Linked DNA regions of Homo sapiens: regions 2 and 3 are each linked to region 1. Evidence: promoter capture Hi-C in human tissues and cell types (Jung and others, 2019). All regions are on one chromosome and are shown on one strand. The core of a region is centred on a gene start or on the middle of the fragment in contact, and the rest is flanking DNA. Distances in the headings are between cores, read along the strand shown.

Region 1 (4,251 bases), core at 692-3,191:
GGCCTAGGGTGCGTCGCTTCCCGGGTCTGGAGGGTCATGGATTCGGTTCATCCTCCTCTATCAAGGGATCTGCCGTGAGGAGTTGGCTCCTCTTCTCTGGCTGGGGCTGGGAATGGAAGCGTGCAGCTGCAAAACAAGGACGCGGGCAATAAATTCCAGAAGCCCTTTCCCCTGGCCGCCAAGAATCCGGCCTTGGGGTAGTCAAAGAGTGACTTTAGTCACTTCAATCGGTTTTGTTTTGTTTTGTTTGTTTTTTGTTTTTTGTTTTTTTTATATATATATATACTGAGGGTCTCCATGTGCCGGAGTAGCCCTGGGCGAGTCGGCTGCTCAGATGATGAAGGTTTCGTCCCAGCCCCGGAGAACCCACATTGTCCTGCGCACCTCCGCACCACCGCGATTCTCTAGTCCTCCAAAGCCTCCCAAGACTGTAATGGAGTAAATTCAATTTCGTCGTGATATTTCCAAGACTATATCAGTGAAGTTTTTTTTTAAGAGTTGTGGGCCGGGCGCGGTGGCTCACGCCTTTAATCCCAGCACTTTGAGAGGCCGAGACAGGAGGATCACGAAGTCAAAAAATCGAGACCATCCTGGCCAACTTGGTAAAACCCTGTCTCTACTAACAATACAAAATTAGCTGGTCGCGATGGCGCGCCTGTAGTTCCAGCTACTCGGGAGGCTGAGGCAGGAGAATCGTTTGAACCTGGGAGGCGGAGGTTGCAGTGAGCCGAGATTGCGCCACTGCACTCCAGCCGGGAAGACAGAGTGAGACTCCGTCTCAAAAAAAAAAAAAAAAAAAAAGATTTGTGTTCGGGTGGGTGGCAACTGAGAGCTCGCCGAACCACAACCTCTTATTTAACAGATAAACAGATAAGGAAGCTGAGACCCAGAGGGAGCCAAAGCAGTGGAGAAAGCGAGTTCTTTGGGACTTTTCCCCTCTCCCCTTTCCCTCCTTCCCCAGGCTCCCACCTACCCCAGGCTCCCACCTACCCCGGGCTCATTTCCGCCCCCCACCTCCTCCAGGTTCACTTTGTAGGACTCCGTTCCTGCAGGGCCAGGTCCCTCCGAAGTCCCCGGGAGCGTGAAGGCGCCTGGGCTCGCGAGCATACGCGGAGGCTTGGCGCACCCTGGCACGTCCCAAACAGCAGAGCCAAGACTGCGAGACACTCACAATAGTTAGGGGAAGAGCCGGCAGTGGAGGCCCAAAATGGGCTGACCCCTAACTAGGAGGCGTGGGCGCGGTTATTCAGGCTAGGGCGCACGCGGACGGCAGAGGGGCCCACGCACGGTTCCCATGCTCTCCTGGAATTGAGTGTTGGCTCTCAGGGGACTTTGCTGGAAAGCCTCCATCTAAGCCCCTTTCCGAAATCAGGGAAGCTGGACGCGTTTAGAAAAAAGAAAAAAAATAGGCCGGTCGCGGTTGCTCACGCCTGTAATCCCAGCACTTTGGGAGGCCCAGGCGGGCAGATCGTCAGGAGTTCAAGACCAGCTTGGTCAGGGTTTCGCATGGCTAAAACCTGTCTCTACTAAAAATACAAAAATTAGCCAGGGTGGTGGCACGGACCTGTATTCCCAGCTACTCGGGAGGTTGAGGCAGGAGAATCGCTTGAACCTGGGAGGCAGAGGTTGCAGTTAGCTGAGATGGCGCCACTGCACTCTAGCCTGGGCAACAGAGTGAGACAAAAAAGAAGAAAAGAAAAGAAGAAAATAATAAGGTTTTAAACTTAAAGGATACATTCCTACTTACCCTCTCCACCCCCACCCTCTGGCTGCAGTTTCCATTTGCTTCCAGGGCTGAGTTTAACCTCCACCTCCGTTCCTGGGACTGTGGTGGAGGGGGCGACCGGCCCCTGGAGCGTGGGCGCTAGCGAGGTAGGCGAGACAGGGCGGAGCCCCCCGGAGGTATATCTTTATAAAGGAGGGGGCAGCTGCCAGAGGTCGATGCTGCCGTTCGGGTGGAGAACGTTCAGCACCGCGGCCAAGGACAAGGCCCCGCCCGGGTCCATAACCATTGTCCCCAGCTTCCAGATATCTAAACAGCCTCTCTCTCTTTCTCTCTCTCTGCACCTCCCCTTCACACACCCCACTTTCTTCTTTAAAGAGAAGAAAAAAAACCCACCTGGCGCACCTGTCCTTTTTTCTTCTATTTTTCAGAACCCTGGGCGGAAAGCGCGAGCGAGTTGGGCAGATGCCGGCGGCCGCGGTGCAGGAAGCGGTCGGCGTGTGCTCCTACGGGATGCAGCTCAGCTGGGACATCAACGATCCGCAGATGCCTCAGGTAAGTGAACCGGGTGTGTGCGGGCACGCGGGGCGCTGTCCATCCGAAGGAGGGAGAATGGCATTCGAGTTCTTGAAGAGTCTGCGGACGGACCATACACACACACACACACACACACACACACACACACACACACACACACACACACATACCCGCAAAATTTCTGGGTTTCTGAGGCCCTCTCAAGTGTAGAAAGAAAACTGGACTCTACAAAAGGCTGAGTTGGGTTTAGAAATGTGTCTTCTTGGCCGGGCGCTGTGGTTCATACCTGTAATCCCAGCACTTTGGGAGGCTGAGGCGGGTGGATCATCTGAGGTCGGGAGTTCAAGACCAGCCTGACCAACATGGAGAAACCCCGTCTCTACCAAAAATACAAAATCAGCCCAGCGTGGTGGCGCATGCCTAAAGTCGCAGCTACTCGGGAGGCTGAGGCAGGAGAATCGCTTGAACCCGAGAGGCAGAGGTTGCGGTGAGCCAAGATCACGCCATTGAACTCCAGCCTGGGCAACAAGAGCAAAACTCCATCTCAAAAAAAGAAGAAGAAGAAGAAGAAGAAATGTGTCTTCTCCCAGCAATTTCCTTGTGCTTGCCTGAAATCACAAGCAAAGCAGCAGGAAATGTTGGTCAGGCTCCACATTCCCAGTCTTGGGGAGAGCGGGACGCCTGTCCTTTCACTTCCCTTTAACCAAGGTAGAAATTAGGTGCCTCTCTCCTTATTCATTTACTTTAAATCCATGAGGAAGCTAAGGAGAAAATCTAAGCAGATGTAAATACCACTGCTTCTCATGCAGCAAAACTGAGGTACAACTGTAAAGTGAATCTAATGACCTAAATTTAAAACAAGTAGCCCGACTTGAGCAATTTGCTCAGACCTCCCTAACTGCTCAGAGGAAGGAGGCCCCATAGTCATGCCAACAAGGCCACCTGTACCCAAAACTTACTTCTTCTCTAATGACAAGCAAATCATCATTCTTTTAGGGTGAATTTGTTGTATTTTGCTTTATTTCAATAAAGCAAAAATGGTTTGGAGCCAAGTCCAAAGAATGACTGGGGTGGATGAAGTGGTGAATGAAGTGGGTGGTTTGAAGCCAGTTCCAGAGAATGACCAATTATCATTAGTCACACTGGTTAGGGCCAAAATTGAGTGATGTTGAAGTCCTGGCTGTAGGGGGTGGGGGGTGTAGAATGAGAGTTGCTTCCCTGCCATTTGCAGATGTGGGCTTCCAGCAATGTTGTGGCACAGGGATAAAAGAGATGGGTCATTTTGTCCGCAACTAAAATGTGTCTGATAGGTGTTCAGATGAATAACAATTCATTGCAACATTGTGTCGCCTCTCATAGAGGTCAGCACTTTTTTGGATCCATATATTTGTAGTAGGTTAGGTGTGTTTTACTCCTTTGTTTTTGTTTGTTTGTTGGGGTTTTTTGTTGTTGTTTGTTTGTTTTTTGAGGCGGGGTTTAGCTCTTGTTGCCTAGGCTGGGGTGCAATCACACGATCTCAGCTCACTGCAACCTCCATCCCCCAGGCTCCAGCGATTCTCTTGCCTCAGCTTCCCGAGTAGCTGGGACTACAAGCATGCGCCACCACGCCCAGCTAATTTTGTATTTTTAGTAGAGATTGGGTTTCTCCATGTTGGTCAGGCTGGTCTCGAACTCCTGACCTCAGCTGATCCACCCGCCTTAGCCTCGCAAAGTGCTGGGATTACAGGCGTGAGCCACCGTGCCTGGCCCACTCCTTTGTTTTAAAGTCTGCCTACTTTAGAGTCACATGGTACCATTTTCATGAAAGTGGACCACAGTACAGCAAGTGCATCTCATTCTGTTTCTGTCCATGTACATCTTCACAGGAAACAATCATATCTTGCATTTTAGAAAAGTCACATCCAAGTAATGTAATTATGGTTCATCTCTCAAGCATTTGCTAGACTTCCCATGTCAATATGAACTTTTTTTTAGGAGACTGGTTGTTAAGC
Region 2 (4,251 bases), core at 608-3,107, 190 kb before region 1:
TCCCATTGATGAGGGTTACACCCTCATGACCTATAGTCCCTCCCCCAAAGGCCCCACTTCCTAATGCCATCACATTGGGAATTAAGTTTCAACATATGAATTTTGGAGAACACTGACATTTAGAACGTAGTTGTCAGCCAATTCTGTATCCTCATCTTCTGGGATGAACGCTGTGATCCATCACCCAGTGCATTCCCCCTGTGATGTTGGTCTTGTCGCTCCAGGTGTAGGGAGTGCTGGCGGGCATTTTAGGGACTGTCTTGGCCACACCCCTTCCTGGGGTGGACATCCAGTGACTATCCCATGCAGGAATATAAAGAACTGGCCATCTCAGACCAACTCAGGACAACTCTGAAGGGCCATTCTAGCTCCAGAGCTCCTGTGGGTTCAGCCAAGAGTCCTGGCCTGAAATGCATCTCGACTTCTGTCTCTCTGTTCGATTTCTTCTTCCCCCTTCCTTCTATGGGTGTTGAAACCAAGGATGAGCCCTAATAATCATCCTGCAGAATGTGTCTCAGAATTTTCTTCCCAGGAATCTAACTTAGGACACTTTCATCTAAAAGAAATAAAAAATATGTGTAACTTATCTTTAAATACTTTGCCAAGAAAAAAGCCGGAAAACTCCTGGTGGTAAGAAACGGTTTGCCTGGCCATTTTAGTGATGGCCTGTTATTTTAAAATCTTGCTTTTACAAAATTAGGCCCATTGAAAACAACTCATAGCAAGGAAACAGCAAAACAGAGTGACACACTGACAGTGGAATTCCTACCATGCCCTCAGGATACTTCCTATTATTCTATTTGACATGTGAACATGGAACATAAGAGACAAATTGAGGACCCAGTGTCTATCTTTATAGCAAATATTAAGAAAGCTTAATTTCTTACCTTTTAACATAAATACATATACTTTCTCATATTTTCTTTCTATGTCCTCAATGTACAGCATTATATTGCAAAGTCTACTCATCTAGGCAAAAAGCCACAAGAAATGAATGTAAGGAAGGCAGATGGGCACAACCCAGTGGGGCCAGGACTTATGAGCTGTCTGTGCTGCTGAGGACATGGGAAGAGCCAACGATAACTTCTAGATTGCTAGCTCGAGTGACTGAATGAAAGTCAGTGCCCTAAAATCTTTGACTTGGGGAGAGGAGCAAGGTGGCATTTGCCAGGCCGGATTTGGAGTGTGATGGTGGAACATCTGGATACAGGAGTTCAGTGGGAAGGTTCCAGTGTATGTATGCATGAGGGGCAATCAGGAGAGCTGCCAGGACTCAAGTGGCCATCTGCAAGTTAAAGCAAGGAAGTGATGAGAGTATAAAGAGAGAAGATGATAAGCCCAAAGTAATATTTTTAACAGATGAGGCCTAGCAGTAGTATTGAGGATATGCTGGAAAGGCCTCAGGCCTCAAGGCAGCCTATAGGAGGCTGTAGAGATGCAAATGTGGGCTAATGAAGTCCTGGGCAAGGGCACAGGGAGGGTGGAAGGGTGGGAAGGAGAGGATGTGTTTGGGCAAGCTTTACGACTAACAGGAGTAGGGAGCCAGGGAGAGGAGGGAGTTCATGTTTTCCTTTTAGACCTTATTTGGAAAAATACCTTTATCTTAAATACTCTGTGCCTTCCTCCCATTCTGACGTTATGAAAATCCACATACATATGAAGCATTTATGGTTCAAGTTTTAGAAGTGGTTAAGCTGCAGTTAGGCACTGAACACACACCAGTTTCCTATGGCAATTTAGACGACTAACTATAGTAATAGATTTTTACCTACACAGACAGCAATGACATGTCATAAGCAAGAAGGCAAGTATGACTGATTCTCACCTCCTTCTGTGGTGTAATCATTCCTATGACAGGTAGAATATTTGGTTCTAGGCCATGTTTATAAAAGTTTATATTGTAGCTGTTTAGGTTCACTTGTTAGTTTTTTGGGGGGAAAGTTAACCAATTTAGAACTTTGAAAGGGTATCTATACTATTATTTTCACAATTTAATAGGTAGAACATTTGAAAAAATGGATACCGTATTTCCTTCCTTTAGCAGCGGAATCTAACTTTTTCTAAACTTCTATAAGCACTTTCCACTGACCTCCCCCCACCCCAAAAATGAGTAACAACAAGAAAGTAAGGCCACCATGCAAAAAAATACAAAATTTCTCAAACATGTCATATTTCTTTGGTGTTACACAGAATGGAGCCTGCATCCTTCCATTTAAACAACAAAAGCCCTGATTGTTACATTCCTACAGAAATGTGACATTTTACTGGATCTTCATTTTCCAGTACAAAATGTAAATTTCTGGTAGAATGTTTTTTCCCTCAGTATAGTTTTAGAATGTTAATCAGTTGGATAACTAAGTTATTGCAGGCCTGCTTGAATCAGGACTGAGGGGAAATTGCATTTTGGATTAACAAAAACACCTTTATTGGACTTAATATTTATTGTAGCTCAATATCAAGACACTGGTTTAGAAGTACTTATTAACATAACACTACTCTTCTACTTTGTCATGAAATTGGAGTTAGGCTCAAACTTTACATTGTAATTTAAGTCCAGCTAACAGTAGCTAATAACATTCCTGTTGTACTTGTCTACGATGTTAACTCATTCAATCTTCACCTCAATTCTGTTAGGTAGGAACTACAGGCTGACCATTCCTAATTCAAAATTCCAAAAGTTTTGAGCACTGATATAACACCACAAGCAGAAAATTTCACACTTGACCTTGTGTACACAAACTTTGTTTAATGTACGAAATTATTTAAAATGTTGTATAAAATTACCTTCAAGCTATGTGTATGAGGTATATATGAAACATAACTTTATGTTTAGACCTGGGTCCCATCCCCAAGATATCTCATTATGTATATGCAAATATTCCAAAATTTTAAAAAAATCTGAAATTCTAAATACTTCTGGTCCCAAGCATTTTGGAAAAGGGATACTCAACTAGTATTATTATTCCCATTTTATAGATGAGGAAAGTGAGGCATGTAAGGTTAAGTAAGTAGACCAAAATTATACAGCTAGTATGTGGGATGGCCAGGATGCTGACCAGACAGCCTGCCATCAGTCCATGCTCTTAACCACGCTGCTCTACTGCCTGCTTAAGTGAGAGTTAAGTAGTTTTGAGGGAAAAAATACTCCAGCTTGCCTTTATAAAATTCCAGAGATCAAACATGTAGTTATATTGTAGATTAGGGGGAAAATAAGTGGTATCTATAATAAAAAGTGCTCCTGGAAGACATAGCAAGCAGGTCTTTTCTGCCATCCAGGTTACCCTGGAATCCCACTTTCCAATATTCCATTTCACACAATAAAAACACCTGTAATCCTAGCACTTTGAGAGGCCGAGGTGAGCAGTTTCCCTGAGCTCAGGAGTTTGAGACCAGCCTGGGCAACACGGTGAAACCCCGTCTCTACTAAAATACAAAAAATTAGCCTGGCGTGGCATCATGCACCTGTAGTCCCAGCTACTTGGGAGGCTGAGGCAGGAGAATTGCTTGAACCCAGGAGGCGGAGATTGCAGTGAGCCGAGATTGTGCCACTGCACTCCAGCCCGGGCAACAGAGCAAGACGCCATCTCCCAAAAAAAAAAGACAAATGAATGCTTTAGGAATCTAAATGCAATACAGTCTTATGACATTTTGCCAATGAATTGTGATTTTTTTTTAAAAAAGATGAAAGCTGAAAAGGTCATCCAGTTCCAGTTTTGCAAACTGCAGGCTGCCATTCACTTGTGAAAAGCATTTTAAAAAATAGATTGCAGGCTAGGTGCAGTGGCTCACACCTGTAATCCCAGCACTTTGGGAGGCCGAGGCAGGTGAATCACCTGAGATCAGGAGTTTGAGACCAGCCTGACCAACATGGAGAAACCCCATCTCTACTAAAAATACAAAGTAAGCCAGGCATGGTGGCACATGCCTGTAATCCCAGCTACTTGGAAGGCTGAGGTGGGAGAATTGCTTGAACCTGGGAGGTGGAGGTTGCAGTGAGCCGAGATTGCACTATTGCACTCCAGCCTGGGCAATAAGAGCGAAACTCCAGCTCAAAAAAAAAAAAAGGATTGTATAGAATGAATGTTATCAGAGTACATATTGATATTGTTTTATTTGTGACACTTTTATTTGTGTGCAAGATCATAACCTAAAATATGTTTCTCACTGTGGGTCACAAACAAAAACTTTGATATCTACTGATCTAGCCCACATTCATCTTCCAATAAGAGAGATGAGGACTGAATCTTCACT
Region 3 (4,251 bases), core at 1,084-3,583, 130 kb before region 1:
TTTAGTTTAGTTTTTGTTGTTGTTGTTGTTGTTTGTTTTTTTGATAGAGTCTCACTTCTTTGCCCAGGCTGGAGTGCAGTGGTGCGATCTCAGCTCACTGCAACCTCCGCCTCCTGCATTCAAGTGATTCTCCCGCCTCAGCCTTCTGAGTAGCTGAGAATACAGGTGTGCACCACCACGCCCGGCCAATTTTTGTATATTTAGTAGAGCTGAGGTTTCACCATGTTGGCCAAACCGGTTTCGAACTCCTCTTTTCTCTTGGATGGATACCTGGGGGTGGAAAACTGGATCATATGGTAGGTGTATGTTTATGTTTTTACCAAACTACTGAACTGTTTTGCAAAGTGGTTGTACCATTTTACATTCCTACCAACTGTGGTAAGTAATCAGGGGTCCAGAGTTAAATAAGGCTCTCCCTGCTACCAGTCTTTCCATTCTTCTCATATTTGCTGTACACAGCCACAAATTGAATTCCAAGTCATTGAACACAGACTTTCTTGTAAGGGCAAGGAGTTGTTCTGGAAGTGGATCTAGGGTTATTTCGCAGAGAATTCTGTGGCCTGGGGAACTTGAAATGTCATCTGGGGAGGCTAAGTTGTGGCCATAGGGAGGCATGATCCCTTGGCTCAAAGGATTTTTTTTTTTTTTTTGCTTTGTGGAGGGACGTGGCCAAAGGATGACCAGAAGGGGGCCTTGAAAGTGTGGGGCTCAGGCCAGTGCCTCTCGCTCAGGTCTAAGGGCTATACTGTTCCCTTCTCATCCACCCAATTCTAACCATCTTGAAAAACCCATCCTGCATCCGCACGCCTGTATCTTCTGTCGTGTGGCAGTTCTGTGTGTCCTCCTCCTCTCGGTTGTTTGCTGTTTGACTTTCTATGTCTCACTTTCCCAATTTGTGCATAAACTTTTCAGTCAACTACTCTGTCTCCTTTTCCTTCATATGTATGACAAAGTGTTATGTACACGAATGCTGTTCAAAAATGTGTCAATGAAATGCATGGAGTTTGCTGCTTTTTCTCTGCTCCTAAGTTGGTGTTAATCTTCAGACATTGTCCAGCACACTTGACATTTACATACAGAATCTAGTCTAGTGTGCAGCTAGGACTTTGTGGTCCAAGCTCTGCCCAGTTAGCCTTCCTAATCTCACCCCAGTTCACTAACACTGCAGACCTCTCTGTGCTTATGCTATGTTTTACTATTCCAGTGTAAACCTCAGTTTGTTCCCCTGACATCACCTCATCTCATCATTGCCTTTTTAGACTACTTCCTTACTAACTATATTAAGTAACCCAGAAATAAAGAGAGAATTTTTATCAGGTTTCTGATTTTCCCAGCATTGGCTGTGGTTCTCTCTGTCAGATAGGTCACTAGAGACCCTGGCCATAAAAACATTTCCCAAGGGAGTCATGCCTCAATGTGTTTTATCTATGTTAATCTTTCTTTCTGATGTGTTCTTTCTTTCCTTCTCCATCTGGAAAATGTCTCCAGTCTTTCAAAATTCAGCCACAGCATTATCTCTTCCAAGAAGGCTTTACTTTTTAAGAGATCTAAATTAAAGTATGTTTCTCTATCCTTTATAGCACATCTCTTATAATATTTAAGACACTGGTACTGCAATTTTTTTATTTATTTGTGTATTACTCTCTCTCCACTAAGAACTCTGTGACGATAAGGACCACATCTCATTTGACTTTATTTTTCAGCATATAACAGTGCTAGTATATAAAATCCTCAAATAATTGGTTAATGAATCAATAAATTAATGAATAAAGGAATGGAATGCCTCTTTTTATTCATCTCTTTCCTTTTCTGTTCTCCACATCTTCCCTTGTTTTACTTTTGTTTCTGCCCTTCTTCCACTGTGACTAAATTTTTGCAATATAGAAATAATACGGGCTTTGTGACCTTTAGCGTTTTCTTAGCTCTACAAATGTTGGAAAATGGATTTTGAACCTTAGCAAACAAGCTGAAACAGTTTAAACATTTGTTTGTGGGTGCAGCAATGGAAGAAAGACTTCATTGGCATTTGTTATGATGGTGAGTACATTTGTGAGATTAACATTCTTTGCTCAAGACTGAGAGGCCTCTGGTCAGCCGCCCCCATTCTAAAGCAACACAGATCATATTCTGTCACACTGAGATCTCAGGTAACTGACCTTTCTCACATCGGGGGCCTCCCGAGATGCCCTACATGGAAACAAAGATGAATATACTGTTTAAAAATTTTCAGGCTTGGTTTAGCCCAGATATTTTTTATAAAGATATTATGAAATAATGAAGATAAAGTTCCTTATATGCTGGCCAGCAATAGTAGGTGCCAGTCAATGTTAGTCATCATCTTCATCCTCTTTCCCAAGCTTTCTAAAGTTCCCGAAGACATACGTTTCCTTGAAATTTCTCTCAGGATCAGAGTCACAAATAAGGAATAGGTCCAAGTGATATGTGCCAGGCAGCAAACATGCCGCTCCTCTTTTTCAGATGCCAGCAAATTAATCATCTGTTTTGGCACTTACAACTTTTTTTGAGAGTGAGCTGAATCTAATGCATGCTCCATATCAACTTCCCGAGGCTGTCATGCTCAGCTCACACACAGTCAGGGACCAACCCGCTGGCCCCACCTTCCTGGAAATACTGGTAATGTTCTGACTTCTCCTCTGGTTGCTTGAGGAGGTGCTGTAGACCTCTGTGGCGGAGCTGGGAAATACCTGAACGGGTATTTTGAGCAGCGTGAGAGCAGACCATGCTGGCAGTATTCCGGCTCCCACCTGAATCCAGTGAAAGTGACAATAATTAATCGGGTGTACCCAAGTGGCACTATTTACAGTAATATAAAGTAGATGTTAATGTGTAAGAAATAGTTTGAAAACAAACAAAACATAAATAGAAAAAATAGCTGTAATGCTCCTTACTTGAAAAACAGTCCTACTTAAAGTTTTAGATTCAGTTTTACGAAATACAGTTCAGCCTGAATTTTCATTTTAAAACTGGATTTATGAATATATTTTGTGGAAACAGATGTTCTCTATTGCCTACCCACAACTGTTATTGTAACAAGGGAAGTTGCTTATGGAACAGCTTTGCCTATAAGCATTTTAGAGGTAAATGGAATTTAGGTCAATAACCCTTCAATGTTTTTTTTTCTTTTTTTTTTTTGAGACAGAGTCTCACTCTGTCGCCCAGGCTGGTGTGAGGTGGCGTGATCTCGGCTCACTGCAAGCTCTGCCTCTCGGGTTCACGCCATTCTTCTGCCTCAGCCTCCTGAGTAGCTGGGACTACAGGTGCCTGCCACCATGCCTGGCTAATTTTTTTTGTATTTTTAGTAGAGATGGGGTTTCACCATGTTAGCCAGGATGGTCTCGATCTCCTGACCTCGTGATCCGCCTGCCTCAGCCTCCCAAAGTGCTGCGATTACAGGTGTGAGACACCGCGCCTGGCCAACCCTTCAATGTTTAAATGCACCAAGTCTGTTCTCTAGGACTCCTCTTGCCTAAGGAAATAAGAGGAATTGTTTCCTTCCAAATCTTTATAGGCTTGTGAAAGGTGAGGATGCATTTACTGTCCTCTTTCCTTAAGTCTTTGCAGTCAAAAGTCCTTGAAGCTGGGACCCTTTGAAAGTCTGTCAGTTACATGTTGTTGGTAGTGGCTTGTTTTGACCGTTTCAAAAAAAGAAGAAAAAAACACTTAAATCATTTTTTCTTTCTCTTTTTAGGAACATCTAAAGGCCTTTGATGATGAAATCAATGCTTTTTTGGACAATATGTTTGGACCGCGAGGTCAGTGAATTACTTGAGAACTTAATGTGGAAGGAACACAGGAAGAACACCATTTAGTTATAGAAAGGGATTATGTTATTTCTGGTGTCTTGGAAATAGTAAGGTACTTAATATTTAGAAACTTAACTTCCTCAACTTTGATATCCTTCCAGAATGTCCAGAAGATCCCATTTCTCCTACTGCTTAACCTCTCCTGGGATTAAAGAAGTTCTGGGAGCAGGAAGCAGAGATAGAGTGAAATGCAATGCTTTCCTCCAGTGTCTGTCTGGCTACAAAGCCGGGTTGTAACTTTCCTTCTAAAGGATGCTGCTTTCTTGTTTCCTCTCCACTGCCCATTCATCTTCCACCTTTCTTACATCCTAGTTATATGTGACATTTCTGCCCTTAGATGCCTTGATAAATTCCCTTTAAAGATGTGTGCGCTGGCTGGGTGTGGAGGCTCATGCCTGTAATCCCAGCACTTTGGGAGGCTGAGGTG

What was found. Contacts are between HindIII fragments. The study calls those that stand out against the background at their distance.
Region 2: a fragment that was not itself captured here is called in contact with the fragment with the promoter of GCM2 in region 1 in 1 of the 25 tissues and cell types used here (aorta).
Region 3: a fragment that was not itself captured here is called in contact with the fragment with the promoter of GCM2 in region 1 in 2 of the 25 tissues and cell types used here (mesendoderm cells and stomach).

Annotation. Positions count from the first base shown.
Region 1 is chr6:10,879,731-10,883,981 of GRCh38, reverse strand. It overlaps GCM2 (glial cells missing transcription factor 2), which reads left to right and starts at 1,941. Exons shown (of 5, transcript NM_004752.4): 1 at 1,941-2,278. The coding sequence starts at 2,189. RefSeq lists a silencer at 1,752-2,046. The HindIII fragment of the contact is 12,545 bases long and covers 1-4,251 here.
Region 2 is chr6:11,073,994-11,078,244 of GRCh38, reverse strand. It overlaps ELOVL2-AS1 (ELOVL2 antisense RNA 1), which reads right to left. Exons shown (of 5, transcript NR_038964.1): 5 at 1-556. Among named protein-coding and RNA genes, the nearest start is that of SMIM13, 18 kb to the left of the region's middle. The HindIII fragment of the contact is 3,630 bases long and covers 43-3,672 here.
Region 3 is chr6:11,010,268-11,014,518 of GRCh38, reverse strand. ELOVL2 (ELOVL fatty acid elongase 2) reads left to right here. Exons shown (of 8, transcript NM_017770.4): 2 at 3,710-3,773. Among named protein-coding and RNA genes, the nearest start is that of ELOVL2-AS1, 31 kb to the left of the region's middle. The HindIII fragment of the contact is 6,284 bases long and covers 1-4,251 here.